2 separate regions of the Homo sapiens genome follow, and region 2 is linked to region 1. Evidence: promoter capture Hi-C in human tissues and cell types (Jung and others, 2019). All regions are on one chromosome and are shown on one strand. The core of a region is centred on a gene start or on the middle of the fragment in contact, and the rest is flanking DNA. Distances in the headings are between cores, read along the strand shown. Region 1 holds the start of SNN (stannin). Region 2 overlaps LOC400499 (putative uncharacterized protein LOC400499).

Evidence for each region. The method cuts DNA at HindIII sites, captures the fragments that hold promoters and counts their contacts. A contact is called where the count stands out against the background at its distance.
Region 2: a fragment that was not itself captured here is called in contact with the fragment with the promoter of SNN in region 1 in 2 of the 25 tissues and cell types used here (lymphoblastoid cells and small bowel).

The regions. Positions count from the first base shown.
Region 1 is chr16:11,663,110-11,670,387 of GRCh38, forward strand. It overlaps SNN (stannin), which reads left to right and starts at 5,346. Exons shown (of 2, transcript NM_003498.6): 1 at 5,346-5,431. RefSeq lists a silencer at 5,019-5,438 and an enhancer at 6,546-6,645. The HindIII fragment of the contact is 16,457 bases long and covers 1-7,278 here.
Region 2 is chr16:11,409,455-11,416,147 of GRCh38, forward strand. LOC400499 (putative uncharacterized protein LOC400499) reads right to left here. Exons shown (of 67, transcript NM_001370704.1): 44 at 4,888-5,054; 45 at 3,387-3,499; 46 at 1,792-1,873. Among named protein-coding and RNA genes, the nearest start is that of RMI2, 67 kb to the left of the region's middle. RefSeq lists an enhancer at 4,467-5,438. The HindIII fragment of the contact is 4,647 bases long and covers 1-3,732 here.

The sequences.
Region 1 (7,278 bases), core at 4,096-6,595:
CTGTCTCAAAAAAAAAAAAAAAAAAAAAAAAAAAGATTGGCAGAAAGGATGAATAACTGAGTGAGTGAATGAATGAATGAACCAGTGGGTAGATGATGAGCAGACACCACTGTTCAGTGAGTTTGTAGGGGGGAAGGCAGAAGGAAACACAGGGCAGGCTGAGGGCAGGCTGGGGGCAGGGAGCACCATGGGCAGGGCATGCTGTTCCCCCTCCCTCGGTCTTCTCCTTATCACATGAACCCCAAAGACCCCAGAGGTGAAGGCCAGAACCAGCCCAGGCCCCGCTCAGACATGACAACCCAGATGGACTTTTCCAGAGGATGCAGGGACCTGTGGGATGGCCCCATGTCCTGACTGAGGCTCTGCTGTGCCCACCAGGAAGCGGACCCTGACTTATTTATTCTTTTCCCAAACACACTGATTTAAAAAGCAGTGGGGTCAGGGTGCAGTGGTTCACACCTGTAGTCTCAGCACTTTGGGAGGCCGAGGCAGGCAGATCACCTGGGGTCAGGAGTTCGAGACCAGCTTGGCCAACATGGGGAAACCCCGTCTCTAGTAAAATTACAAAAATTATCTGGACCTGGTGGCGGGGATCTCTATTCTCTGCTACTTAAAAGGCTGAGGCAGGAGAATCAGCTGAACCCAGGAGGCGGAGGTTGCAGTGAGCCGAGATTGCGCCACTGCACTCCAGCCTGGGCAACGAAGTGAGACTGTCTCAAAAAAAAAAGCAATGGGGGCTGGGCGCCGTACCTCATGCCTGTAATCCCAGCACTTTGGGAGGCTGAGGTGGGCAGGTCGCTGAGCCCAGGAGTTTGAAACCAACCTGGGCAACATAGAGAGATTCCATCTCTGCAGAAAAAAATAATAGCCCAGGCGCGGTGGCTCATGCCTGTAATCCCAGCACTTTGGGAGGCCGAAGAGGGTGGATCACTGAGGTCAGGAGTTCGAGACCAGGATGGCCAACATGGTGAAACCCTGTCTCTACTAAAAATACCAAAAAAATTTAGCTAGGCGTGGTGGCAGGCATCTCTAATCCCACCTACTTGGGAGGCTGAGGCAGGAGAATCGCTTGAACCCGGGACGCAGAGGTTGCAGTGAGGCGAGATTGCGCCATTGCACTCTAGCCTGAGTAACAAGAGCAAGACTCTATGAAAGGAAAGAAAGAAAGAAAAGAAAGAAGAAAGAAACGAGAAAGAAAGAAAGAGAGAGAGAGAAAGGAAGGAAGGAAGGAAAGAGAAAATAATAATAATAAAATTAGCCCAGTGTGGTGGTACATCTGTAGTCCCAGCTACTCGGGAGGCTGAGACGGTAGGATTGTTTGAGCCTAGATGGCAGAGGTTGCAGTGAGCCAAGATCACGCCATTGCATTCCAGCCTGGGTGACAGAGTGAGATCCTGTCTCAAACAAAAACAAAACAAAACAAAAAGCTGAGTGGGGTCACACAAACCTGTGGTCCTAGCTACTTAGGAGGCTGAGGTGGGAGAATCCGGGGAGGTCAAGGCTGCAGTAAGCAGTGATTGTGCCACTGGACTCCAGCCTGAGTGAAAAAATCAAGACCCTGCCTCAAAAACAAAGAAAATAAGAAATAAAAAGCAATGGGTATGTCATTACCATACACAGAAACACAATACCCACATCATACACAGAAGGTAACTAAAACATACACACACAGAAACCCACACATCATTCAGTTCTAGCTGCAGAGTGTCAACTGCCCGGGATTCTGAGCCTGAGGTCTGTGCTCTCTCCTGGACATAAGGGGGCTGAGCCAGCCTTACAGAGATGCTCAGGCCACACTAGCAGCAAAGGAGGCCTTGCCCCTAGAATGGGGAGCTGCTATGGGTTTCAGAGGTGAGTGATGCCCTCTCTGCCTTCCACCTAACCTCACCCTGCAGACCTCACCAGTGGTTCACATCTCACCCTTCAGGAAAAATCCCCTCTGGCCACGCAGTTTTCATTTTGTTCTCAGGCCTGGATCCCTTATAGAGATGCCCCAGGAGCAGAGGCCCGCCCACCCGAGCAGGGAGTCCCAGCTGTAGAGTCTCCCTTGAGGCTGAGGCCTCTCCACCCCGCCGAGCAACCCCCTTCCTTGTCCCAGCCCTTATAGCGGCTGGGGGAGTGGGCAGAGGGCCAGGCTGGTACAGGGCACACCAGCTGGACCCCAGCAAGCCCCAGGGAGCTGGGGTGAGCTCATCCCAAGCCCTCAATTATCCTCCTGGCTAATGAGCATCTGAGAACCTCCATCCCATTCTGTAAGGACGAACCCCGGGGACGTGAGGCCAGATGTCACTACGGAGGGAGGTAGAGGAAATGGGCTTGGGGGAGGGGCGCGATACTTCCTGCCTCCTCTTTGTTGGGGAGAGAAAGGTGGGGCTGCAGCAAGCAGTTAGGGTCGCAGTTAAGCGCAGGATCCTGTAGCCCATCTCATGGGCTCCAGTGCAGGCTTGGAGCCCACTACCTTGTGACTTTCAGCAAGTGAACTCGCCCTTGCTGCTCAAAGTCTGTCCCTGAATCATCAGCACCACTCGGGAACTTTTGAAAAATGCAGGATTTGGGGCTCAGACCTAGTGGGTCAGAAGCTGTATATTTTATTTTATTTTATTTATTTTGAGACAGGGCTCACTGTCACCCAAGCTGGAGTGCAACGGTGTGATCACAGCTCACTGCAGCCTCAACCTCCCAGGCTCAAGCAATCCTCCTACTTCAGCCTCCCCAGTACCCGGGAGTACAGGCGCACAACGCCACGGCCAGCTAACTTTTCTTTTTTAGAGATAGGAGTCTCACTACATTTCCAGGGCTGTTCTCAAACTCCTGAGCTCAAGCCATCCCCCTGCCTTGGCATTCCCCAAAGTGCTGAGATTACAGGTGTGAGCCACCGCACCCGGCCTCATCTCCATTTCTCAGACGAAAAAACTGAGGCACAGAAACGTTCGGCTGTTTTTCCAAAACCACCCAGCAGGAAAGCCTGGAATCTGGCAATCTGACTCCCAGCTTCTATGCCATGCTGAATCTCCCTCACCATTTTCCCCCAAGAATCTTTCCCCTCTAAGTGTCCCTGCCTCCCCTGTCATCGTGTTGCCAGTCCTGGCTCTGGGGTTCTTAGCCTGCCCCTCCCAGGTCCTCACCACTAATGAAGTCTCTGCCAACTTGAGGCGGGGACCACAAAGGCTGCTGGAACTGGCTTTGTGGGAAGAACCTATTTCCTTCCATTCTGGGCTCCTAGGTGTGGCTGATGGGGCAGGATTTGGGCAGATGTGGGGGCGGAGCTGTTCTGAGATGCCCGGCTTTGGCCTGTGGGGCAGCTGGCTGAAGCTGGGCTCTCCTCTGCCTTTCTGTCCTCCCTTCCTGCGCAACTCCCAGCTCACCTCCTGTGCCTGGCTTCCTGACTAGGCTGCCGCTGAACCCGCCCTGGAGTTCTGCAGTCCGATCATTCATTCATTCAACATCCATGTATTCAGCACCCACTGTGTGGCAGGCACTGTTCTGTAGACACAGCAGTGAGTGCAATACACCTAGTCCTGGGAGAGAAGACCAAAAGTTCATCACACAATGTCAAAAATGTACAATTTCACAATGGGTAGGCTGGGCATGGTGGCTCAAGCCTATAATCCCAGCACTTTGGGAGGCCGGGGCAGGAGGATCACCCAGGAGTTTGAGACCAGCTCAGGCAACAACAAGAGACCCTATCTCTACAAAAAATTAAAAAATTAGCCGGGCATGGTGGCATGCACCTGTAGTCTCAGCTACCTGGGAGGCTGAGGTAGGAGGATCGCTTGAGCCCAGGTTACAGTGACCTATGATTGCACCACTGTACTCCAGCCTGGGCGACAGAGCAAGACCTTCTCTCTAAAAAAAAGAAAAAAAATTGCTTCGTCAAATCTGCCCACATTCATAGATATAGGCTGAGTGGGACGATGGCTTGAGCCCAGGAAGGAGTTGGATGGAGGCTGTAGTGAGCTGTGATTGCACCACTGTACTCCAGCCTGAGTGACAGACCAAGACCCCGTCTCAAAAACAAAACAAAAAACCCCAAGGGAGCTACTCTTGGCTGGGCGATCAGGGAGGGCCCTCCTGAGGAAGGGGCACTTAAGCTGAGATCGGGAAGATGAAGTAGAAGAGTTCCAGCTGCAGGGAGCCACATAGGCAAAGGCCTGGCGGTGGGAAAGGCTTGGTGCACTGGGCGCAGGGAAGAAAGCCCAGCGAGGCTGAGTGGAGGGAGTGAGGGCCTGGCCACCTCAGCCTCGTGAGCCCAACCCGCCATGCTCTTCCAGAGGCTTCTGCTTGAGAATGGGAAAGAAGTTTCCAGCAAATAAGGCCCCCGTTCCCAGGAGGAGGTCCCAGCTCGCCCTGCCCCCTCCTGTCTTCTCAAGTCCCCTGGGCCACAGAAGCCTTGAGGGACCCACCCTCACCCCTTCTGTGGGCCCCAGGGCTGGGGTGTCCTCTCGCCGATGGCCTTCTTGGGGTGGATGAGTGGAGATTACTCCAATAACTGGAGCCTCTGTCTTCCCAGGTAGACAGGCCTGGCCTCAAAACCCTCTCTCCATCAGGAGCAGGCTGTGGGACTTCAGCTCTTTGGAGCCTCAGGTTCCTCATCTGTAAAATGGGAAGATTCTTTCTTCCGGAGTCATCTTAATAAAATGTGTTGGGCTGTTTATACAGGGCAGGCATTTGGTGGGGGCCAAACCACCGGGTAATTATGCTAAAAATAACTATGATTATAGGTGGCAGAGGGGTGCAAATGCCTCACAGCCTCATCCCGCAGAGGAATGAGAGCTTCGTCAGGGCCGGGACCTTGTCTGGCTCGTGGCTGCTCCCACGACGACTGGCGTGGCAGGCACGTGGTCAGTGTTCCGCCATCGACTGACTGGGCGGATGAATGATACATAAATGAATTCGCGAACGACTGATGCCCAGCTTCCTCCCGAAGCAAGGTCATTCACCTCAGCGGTCGCGCCTCTCCCCTGCCCCTGCCCCGGATTCCCCGCCGCTCTCAGCTCTCGAGGAGTATGCAGCACTCTTCCGTGCAGCGTGCCTCAGTTTCCTCCGCTGTAAGCAGGCGGGACCAAGGCAGCCTGCCGGGGTCAGGATGAGGCTGGCAGAGGAAGGGCGCCTGTAGTGGGGCCCCGTACCCACGGGCGCCCAATCCGCGCTCGCCAGGGCCGAGCCCGCCCGCCGCGCGCAGCCCCCGCCCCACCGCCTGCCGGCCCCGAGCACACGTGACTCCGCCCCGGCCCGCCCCGCCCCGCCGTCCCAGCGCGGGCTCCCATTGGCCTTTCTGGGAGGCCCCGTCCCCAGCCGGGGAGGAGCCGGGCCCCGCCCGCCGCAGCGCGGGGCTCCTGCGTCCCGAGTGCGCGGCGGCCGGACCGGGCGGGCGGAGCCGGGCCCGCGGGGCTGCTGCGGGGCGATCGGGCCGGGCCGCTGCCGCGCCATGGTGAGCCGGGCGGGGCAGGCCGCGCGCTCGGGCCGGGCGGGGGCGCCGGGGCCCGGGGGCGGGAAGGGGGAGGCCAGGACGAGGAGGGGCGCGCGCGGCGGCGGGGCCGGGCCGGGGTCTGCGGGCGGGGGAGGGGCGGCCCGGCGGGCGCGGCTCGGGGGAGGGTCCGTTCCAGGGGCCGCGCCCGCGGGCTGGGGTTCTTTGTCAGCGGCGCTGCGGCGAGATCCGGACAAAGGAGGCGGCGGGGGGCGGAGGCCGCTTTGTGGGGATCGCGGGGCGCTCGCCCCCGCCCGTGCAGCCCCCGCCCGTCCTCAGCTACGCTCCCGCCTTCCCCCGGCATTTCGGGGTTCTTCAAAATTCTGGGAGCTCCGGGGAGGGCTCCGGGGATAGGGGTCCAGGTGACGTCCGGCGCCCGTCTCGCGGGTAGGGAAACTGAGGCCGGGCCGCAGCGTTCGGCGCCCGGTTCCGTGGGCAGCGGCTGCGCGGCGTGGGCATGCCTAGCTCCCCTGGTCCCCGTCCCACACCCCGCCTCCGTCGGGCCGATTCGAGCTACCTCCCCAGCTGCCGTCCCCTCTCCAGCTGTCGCCCCCTGGGCCGAGCCCCCTCCTCCCTGGAGCCTCGCTTTGCTCCTCCGTGGAGTGGGGGAGACGCCGGCGCCGCCGGGCAGGGTGGAACGGGAGGGTGCGCGGAGCGCGCCTGGCACCGCGCCTGCCACGCCGCCCGCGCTCAGCACTCGGGAGCCGCCGGGGCGCTGTCACCCCTAAGTCCCCAGCACCCAGCCCAGGTCGCCCAGCCCGCCCCAGCGAGGGCCACACTGGGGTTCACCTGTCCGCGGCCCCTCAGGCACGCGGGAGAGGAGGTAGGGAGAATGTGGCATTTTAGAGTCAGGGTCGAAATGCGGGATTTTGGATGCAGGTTGCCTGGGTTTGAATCCCTGCGCGTCTACTTTTGAGCTGTGTGACCTTGGGCAATGGACTTAACTTCTCTGAGCCACCAATTTCTGTATCTGCCAAGAGGGAACAGTAATAGCTCAACTGCCCTGTTGTCTTGAGGCAGAAAGGAGACATCTGCGTGAGCTGTTTATCTCAGTGTCTGGCACATATAATTGCCACCAACTTTCTCCGGCATCTACAAGCAAAGTTGTTTGGCCAAACAGGCCAACCCTGGGGCAGCCTGTGAAAATGACCAGCGGGTGATTCACAGGGTGGGGGCATGAGCCTCTGGCCTGGCCCGAGGAAGACCCCGACTGACCTTGGGGCAGTCCCGGTTCAGAGCTCTGCGGGCTCCCGCTTCCTCTTTTGCCACTGGGGAACCTAGGGGATTCTGGAGCGAGTTTCCTCTTCTGAGGATGGGGGTGTCATGGGTGGGGGTGGAGGATGAGATAACACTGGCCAGAGAGCTGGGCACAGCCCCATCAGTGTCAGTCCCACTGGCATCCGGCCGTTCTTGGTCCTGGCTTCTGGAGGGCTGGGGCCTTGTGTGATGCGTCCTTGTGTCCCACTGGCTGCTGGAGGCCCAGGGCAGAACGGACGTCCCGCCTCGTCCTGGCTGTGTCCAGCAGTGCCCTCTTCTCCCTACAACCCTGTTTTCCCAGTCAGAACCTGGGGCAGGAAACGTTTCTGGTTTGTGACCCGGGGTTCGCTGAAGAGTTTGTTGGCACCCTTGGCAGGTGGCTTTATGGGGGGAGGCAGTACTGAAAGCCCCGTAGGGATGGCTGGTCCCCTGTAAGCAGGGCAGCCCTCCTGGCGTCTGTCAAGGAGCCTCAGGAGGTGGCGGCTGCAAGGCGGGGGTGTTTTGCTGGTGGTGAGCCCGGCAATGCTCATGATGTGCCCGGTTGAGTTAGGAGG
Region 2 (6,693 bases), core at 159-2,658, 260 kb before region 1:
ACAGTGACAATTCTGAGTAGTTGTAACAGGGACCATAAGGCCTGCAACCCCCACAACATTTTACTTTACAATAAAAGTTTGTAGACCTCTGTTCTAGATTAAGAAAATTAAAAAGACATGGCAACTACGAATGCTGCGTGATCTTGGCCTGCATCCCGGATTTAAAACAAAACAAAACAGTTTTTTGAAAGAACATTAGTGGGAAAGCTGGGAAATTGTATATGGGCTGTACATTAAATGAAGGTATTAATTCAACGTTCAGTTTCTGGAATGTTGTAATTACCGTGTTAAATCAGAAAATATCCTTGTTACAGGAAATAGTTGAAGTATTTCAGAGTAAAAAGTTGATGTCTTCAGAAACGTCTCTATATTAATTCTTAATGATACAGAAAAAATGTGTGATGATACAAATTTATGTAACAGATAAGAAAGATGGAAAGATATTAACAATTGGTCAATGTTCACTGTCCTACAGTAGCTTTTATATAGGTTGAAATAACTCAAAATAAAACTTGGGAAAAAACTAAGAAGCTCCCGGAATGGAGCCAGGTGTGGTGGTACCACCTGTAGTCCCAGCTACTCCAGAGGCTGAGGCAGGAGGATCACTTGCACCCAGGAGTTTGAGGCTGCAGTGAGCTATGATCACGTCACCACACTCCAACCTGGGTGACAGAGCAAGACCCTGTCTCAAAAAGACATTCTAAAAACAAAAAATAAGGCTGGGCGCAGTGGCTCACGCCTGTAATCCCAACACTTTGGGAGGCCGAGGTGGGTGGATCATTTAAGGTCAGGAGTTTGCGACCAGCCTGGATATCACGGTGAAACCCTGTCTCTACCAAAAATACAAAAATTAGCCAGGCGTGGTGGCGCACGCCTGTCATTCCAGCTACTCAGGAGGCTGGGGCAGGAGAATCGCTTGAACCGGGGAGGCGGAGGTTGCAGTGAGCCGAAATTGTGCCACTGCACTCCAGCCTGGGTGACAAAGAGAGACTGTGTCTCAAAAAAAATTTAAAAATTAAATAAATAAATAAAGAAGTTCCCTGAATGACTGTGCAGTTGGAGCGAAGTTTGAGGAACTCCAAAATCACGTGTAAATGCGGCAGGGGACCCAGCACATAGCGCATGCTCTGTAGACAAAGGTGGCCTGGGCCAGGGCTGGGAGGGTGCCTACCAAAACATGGTGGCTGGTAGGAAAATGAAGTGACTAGTTACAGATGTAACCATTCATGCATGCACTCACCTATTCATGCCCTATTTTTTTTACTAAACAACTACTGTGTGCTGGGCCCTGTGCCAGGCACTAGGCATGCCCTCCAGGAGCTCCGGATCTGGGCACAGACAATGACAGCTCAGAGGGACAGAGGAACCTGGCCTAAGACTACTGGGCCCTCCTGTGCACTCCTACGACCCCTCAAGTCCTGCATGCAGGGCAGAGATGGGGGTGACGCTGGCTCAGCTCCAAAGGGCTGTGTCATCTGCTCCAGCTTCTACAAGTGTGCCAGGCTGGGTGAGGCAATGCCAGGCGCCAGGCACTGGGTGAGGAGGCCTCCCCCATCTCCCAAAGGGCTTGTGAGCCTGACTGGGGGCCACGGGGGCTGGCCCAGGAATGTAAACCTGGGTATGTTTGGGAAAGCTGGAGCCAGGGGTTTCCGAGGGTTGCCCACCGGAGCCTGCTGCAGGCTGGTGAACAGATGTGCATGTATTAACACTCCCCAGAGGGGCCTGGCCCCCTCCTGCCTCGGGCTGGGCATCTGGAACCAGTTAGGAGCCAGGCAGCTGGGGCACAGTTACCTTAGCTGAGGCTGAGGCTGAGCTGGGGCAGAGACCCAGGAGGAAGGGGAGGCGATGCCGGCCTGAGAACAGCAGCTCTTTGCTAGAAGGAAGGAAAGAGAAGGCCTGAAGCTGGCAAGACAGCACCTTGTCCAGTGCCCCCAGGGCCATGTCGAGACCAAGGGGACTTCCCCGAGAGAGAGTCAGAGAGCCAGGATCACATCAGTGGCCCAGTTCAGGGCTATTCACACACCCCGAGGCCCAAGGGCCATACGGTGCCCTGGTTAGGGCTGGACTCTGGAGCCAAGTTACCTAGATTTGAGTCCTGGCTTGGCCTCTGCCTAGCTCTGGCACCAGGAGCAAGCTTCTTGGTTGTCCCTCTCTGAGCCTCAGCTTCCCCTGAGCCTCAGTTTCCCCATTGGTATCAAGGGTTAAACATGGCTCTGGGCTTCAAGTCTTCCATGAGTCCATCAATGAGCTTTCTTGGGTTGGTCCCATGGGAGTCCCAGCAGGGTCTGGACAGCAGGATTTTAACCCCCTGACTCCCTCCCAGGGATCCTCCTCACATAGCACCCCTCCCCTCACTCCTCCAGGCCAGGGTGGTTACAATCTCCACGTTTTTCTCTTTTTCTTTTTTTTTTTTTCCTTCTTCACTAGAGACAGGGTCTTTCTCTGTCACCCAGGCTGGAGTGCAGTGGTGCCATCTCTGCTCACTGCAGCTTCGATCTCCCAGACTCAAGTGATCCTCCTGCCTCACCCTCCTGAGCAGCTGGGACTACAAGCATGCGTCACCATACCAGGCTCATTTTTAAGATTTTTTGTAGCGATGGGGATCTCACTATGTTGCCCAGGTTGGCCTCGAGCTTCTGGGCTTAAGCAATCCTCCCACCTCGACCTCCCAAAGCACTGGGATTACAGGTGTGAGCCGCTGTGCCAGGCCTCTCTCCCCTGTTGCTAACTCCAGGGTGCTACACCCTCTTGTCAGGTTCCTCTCCACCTCCATGTCTCAGCCTTGGCACAGCTGACATCTTGACTCCTGGCCTTCACAGTCGTGGGTGTGTCCTAGGCACTGTAAGATGCTTAGCAGCATCCGTGGCCTCTATACACTGACTCTCACAGTGTCCTCCTCCCCACTGTAGCAACCAGAAATTCCCCAGACTTTGCTGAAAGTCCCTGGGGGGAAACTCGCCCCTAGGTGAGAACCACTGGTCTACCCCTTCAACAAGTGGCTTACTCACCCCCTCCCTCACTGCTGAGACCTGAGGGCTAGAGCCTGGCTGGTGGCCCCTGACTTACTGCACACGTAAGAGCACCAAGCGCCTCACCAGGCCCCCAGGCCTAAGGGCAGTAATAGTTATTAATAAGTGTTTGGGGCCTTGGATGCACTTAGTTTCTGAGACTGAGAACTCATCAGTGCCCTGCCTGGAGAGGATGAGGGATTTTTATAGCTGTGTGACCTTGGAAAAGTTACTTGGCCTCTCTGAGCCTCCCTGCCCTTGTTTATGCAGCAGTGCTGAGCAGAGAATTGAGAGGTGCTGTGTCCAGCGATGGTGCACAGCAGGTACCCAGTCAATGGTTCCTCCCCCGACTCCTCTCCTCCTGGGGGCCCCCCTCACCTGACTGCCTGGTTCTGGCCACGGACGTCAAGGACCAAGGTGGCCTGAGAATCGCAGGTCAGCTGCAGTGAGGAGCTCATCTCTTCTGCCTCCCAGAGTCCTTGGAACACGAGCTGAGGAGGGAGCAGGCTGTGAGATGTGTGGGTGTACATAGCCTGAGGAGCCTCACAGGCTGGGTGGGGACCCCAGCCGAGCTCTATAGCCCAGCACGTCCCTGTCCCTAAGCCCAGCATGGCCTGGCTCATCCAACACTCTCACAGGTGCTGAGGATACAGGGCCGGAGTCAGCCCCTATTGCAGCTCAGGTTGGCAGTGCCCACCGAGGGACCTCAAAGGACAGCTGCAGCCCAGACGTCGACAGAGAATGTGCTCCCGGGAGGGCTCCCTGTCACCTGACCTCGAGGCCAGGAAAGGGTTTAGATGAAGCCAAGGGCACAGGGTATCCAGTCCACTCAGTTGTGGGGTACAGGGCTGAGATCCTTTGCAGGAGGGGTGACATCCTGGCCCCCTGACCCCCTGGGAGCTGCTCCCTCCTCCTACAGCAGAGTGGACTGGGGCAGGGGTTGCTGGGTAATCTGAAACAGGAGGGTGTGAAAGAAGCATTGGCGCCTGGCTCTAGAATAGGCTCTGTGGCTCTTGGAGAAGGAGGGCCCAGCCAAGCAGGACGAGTTCATGCCAAGTGACAGTGGTCAGGGCATGGCCCCATGTGGGTTCCTCTTCACCGAGGCAGGAGGACACCGTGAGGAAGGGCCTGGGTGCCAAGTCTGAGTCCCTATTTTGCTGCTAACTTGCTAGGTGACCTTGGGCAAGTCACCCACACTCTCACGTGTGACCCAGAGATGATGATGATGACGATAATAATCACTGTCAGACCATCAGCATCTTCTTCTTCATCTTTGCCTTCATCACAGCAGGTGCTTAAGGATCTACTCAGGCATTAATGGGATGAACTCACTCGATCCTCACAACCTCCACATTATAGGTAATATCATCATCCCTGTTTTGCAGATGAGGAGATGAGGGCACAGACAGGTGAAGGAATTTGCCCAAGGCCACACAGCTGGCAAGCAGCAGAGCTGGGATCTGAACATCGGAGAGGGCCTTGGTAAGGACGGTGCCATCCTGCCTTTCTCTGGAGCCTGAGGAGGATGAGACTGACGAACGCCCATAAACCCTTTGAAGGGGGCTGGGCACAGGGCAGGGCTTGACAAGCAGGAGCTTTGATTCTGACCCAAGATTGCAGGGCAGAAGGACGCAGGGCAGGAGCCAGACGAGGCTCCAGGGCACCCATCCACACCAGCCCTGTGATTGGAAATGCAGAGACTGCTCAGCAGACCTGGTTATAGCGATTATGAATGAAGCCTTTGTAAATTGTCAAGTACTGGGGAAACCCAAGGCCTGGTCCTCCCCACCCACCCTGCACACAGCGGGTCCTCTGCACACCAGGAATTGGACAGAGAGAACAGAATGTGGAGGGAGGTCCTGCTCCATCCACTCCTTACCTGGTTGGTGAAGGGCAGGCCCAGCCTCTGGAGAGCAGGCACTGTGTGGCTGGCACTGGCCACCAGCTGCAGTGGGCCACGTCGTGGCCGAGCCACCAGGGCTGCCAGGTCCATGCTGACTCCACTGTCCCCACCATGGAGGGCCACCCTGGCCTGGGTCTGGGTCTCTAGAGACAGAGAATGGCATGGGCTACTGAAGACAGCTTCACCTCCCTTCCCAGCCCAGGAACACACCAGACTACATGAGAGGCCATGCCCTGTGGCCCTCAAACACAACACCAGCAGGAAAGGGCAAGGCTGCCACAGCGTGGGTGCTGGGTGGGGTCAACCCCTTTGAGCCTCCGTGACATCATCTGTCATAATTTGTCCCTGAGGATCCAGGCCTGGGTGGCTCCTTCTCTCATTGAAGTTGAAGTTGCTGAAATGACACCTTCTCCAAGAAGCTTCCCTTGACTGCCCATCTGAAGTCCCTCCCAGTCCTTGGCTGCCAGGCATCCTCCATCCCATCTCCCTGGAGTGTGGTTTCCAGCACAACCTGAAATGACCTCGCTCACTTACTTATTAGGTTCCTGCTCCCCAAACTCTCACCCCACCAGAAGGTCAGTGCCTGGGGTCGGGATTTCCCTTAGGACAGCTCCTGACATGCAGCGGGGGTGCAGTGAGTGCTTTCTGAATGACTGTGGGATGAAAGGCTTCTCTGCAGGGATTCCTGAGGATTATGGGAGGGGTAGCCTGCAGAGGAATCAGCATGACGTCTGCTCCCCACAAATGGCCACTGCGGCCACTGACATCCACCTGCAGCCACCTGGCCCTGGCTGGAGGGTCCCGTCCTTCCCATCACCCCCTACAGAACAGGAGATTTTGGCTCACAGTTAGGAGTTTCTTCTTTGACTTAAACTCCCTTTGCTATACAGAGAAACTCATCGGGTCCAGGAGCCCCAGAGCAAACAGATGGCGCCGATTCTGTATCAGATGCCAGGTTCCCGTGGGGTGCAGCTCACGGCTCAGGCCCAAGTGACACTCAGCCAGGCTCCAGCACCTCCCATCTGGCCAGCAGGGTGGACGAGCTCCACAGCCCTGAGCCTCGACTTCCTTATCTATGAGGTGGGCACAGCCCGCCCGCCTCAAGGGACAGCGTCCAGAGTGAATGGGGTAACACACGGGAGAGGACCACTTGTGGGACATGCAGGTGGCCTCAGGAAATGCTTCCTTCCTTCCTCGTTCAACATTCAGCCACATGTACCTACTACATGCAGGGCACAAGGAGACAGGGGACACAATCCCCACACCTGGGAGCACCCGGCTGTCAGAGATACCAAGAATGTTAACGACAGGCAGAGCATCCCCAGGAGGTAGGGACAACAGACTGGACAGCAGTGGGAGAAGGGAGAAGTCACTCTTGGCTGGGGGCGGCCATACCAGGCATCCTGGGTCGGGAACTAGAGCGGCGTGGAGGTGGTCATCCAGAATGGCCTCCCCTCACTTGACTGTCATGTCCCTAACAAACCCTGAGGTCAACTCAGACTGGGGACAATTTCCCCATGTGATCCTGTCCTCTGTTCTCCCCTCAGGAGGCTAACGGCCAAAAATAAAGTGTTTTTTTTGCTGTTGTTGTTTTGTTTTTTTTTTTTTGAGACAGAGTTTCACTCTGTGGCCCAGGCTGGAGTGCTGTGGCGTGATCTCGGCTCACTGCAACCTCCGCCTCCCAGGTTCGAGTGATTCTTGTGTCTCAGGCTCCTGAGTAGCTGGGACTACAGGCATGCACCACCATGCTCAGCTAATATTTTTTGTAGAGACAGGGTTTCA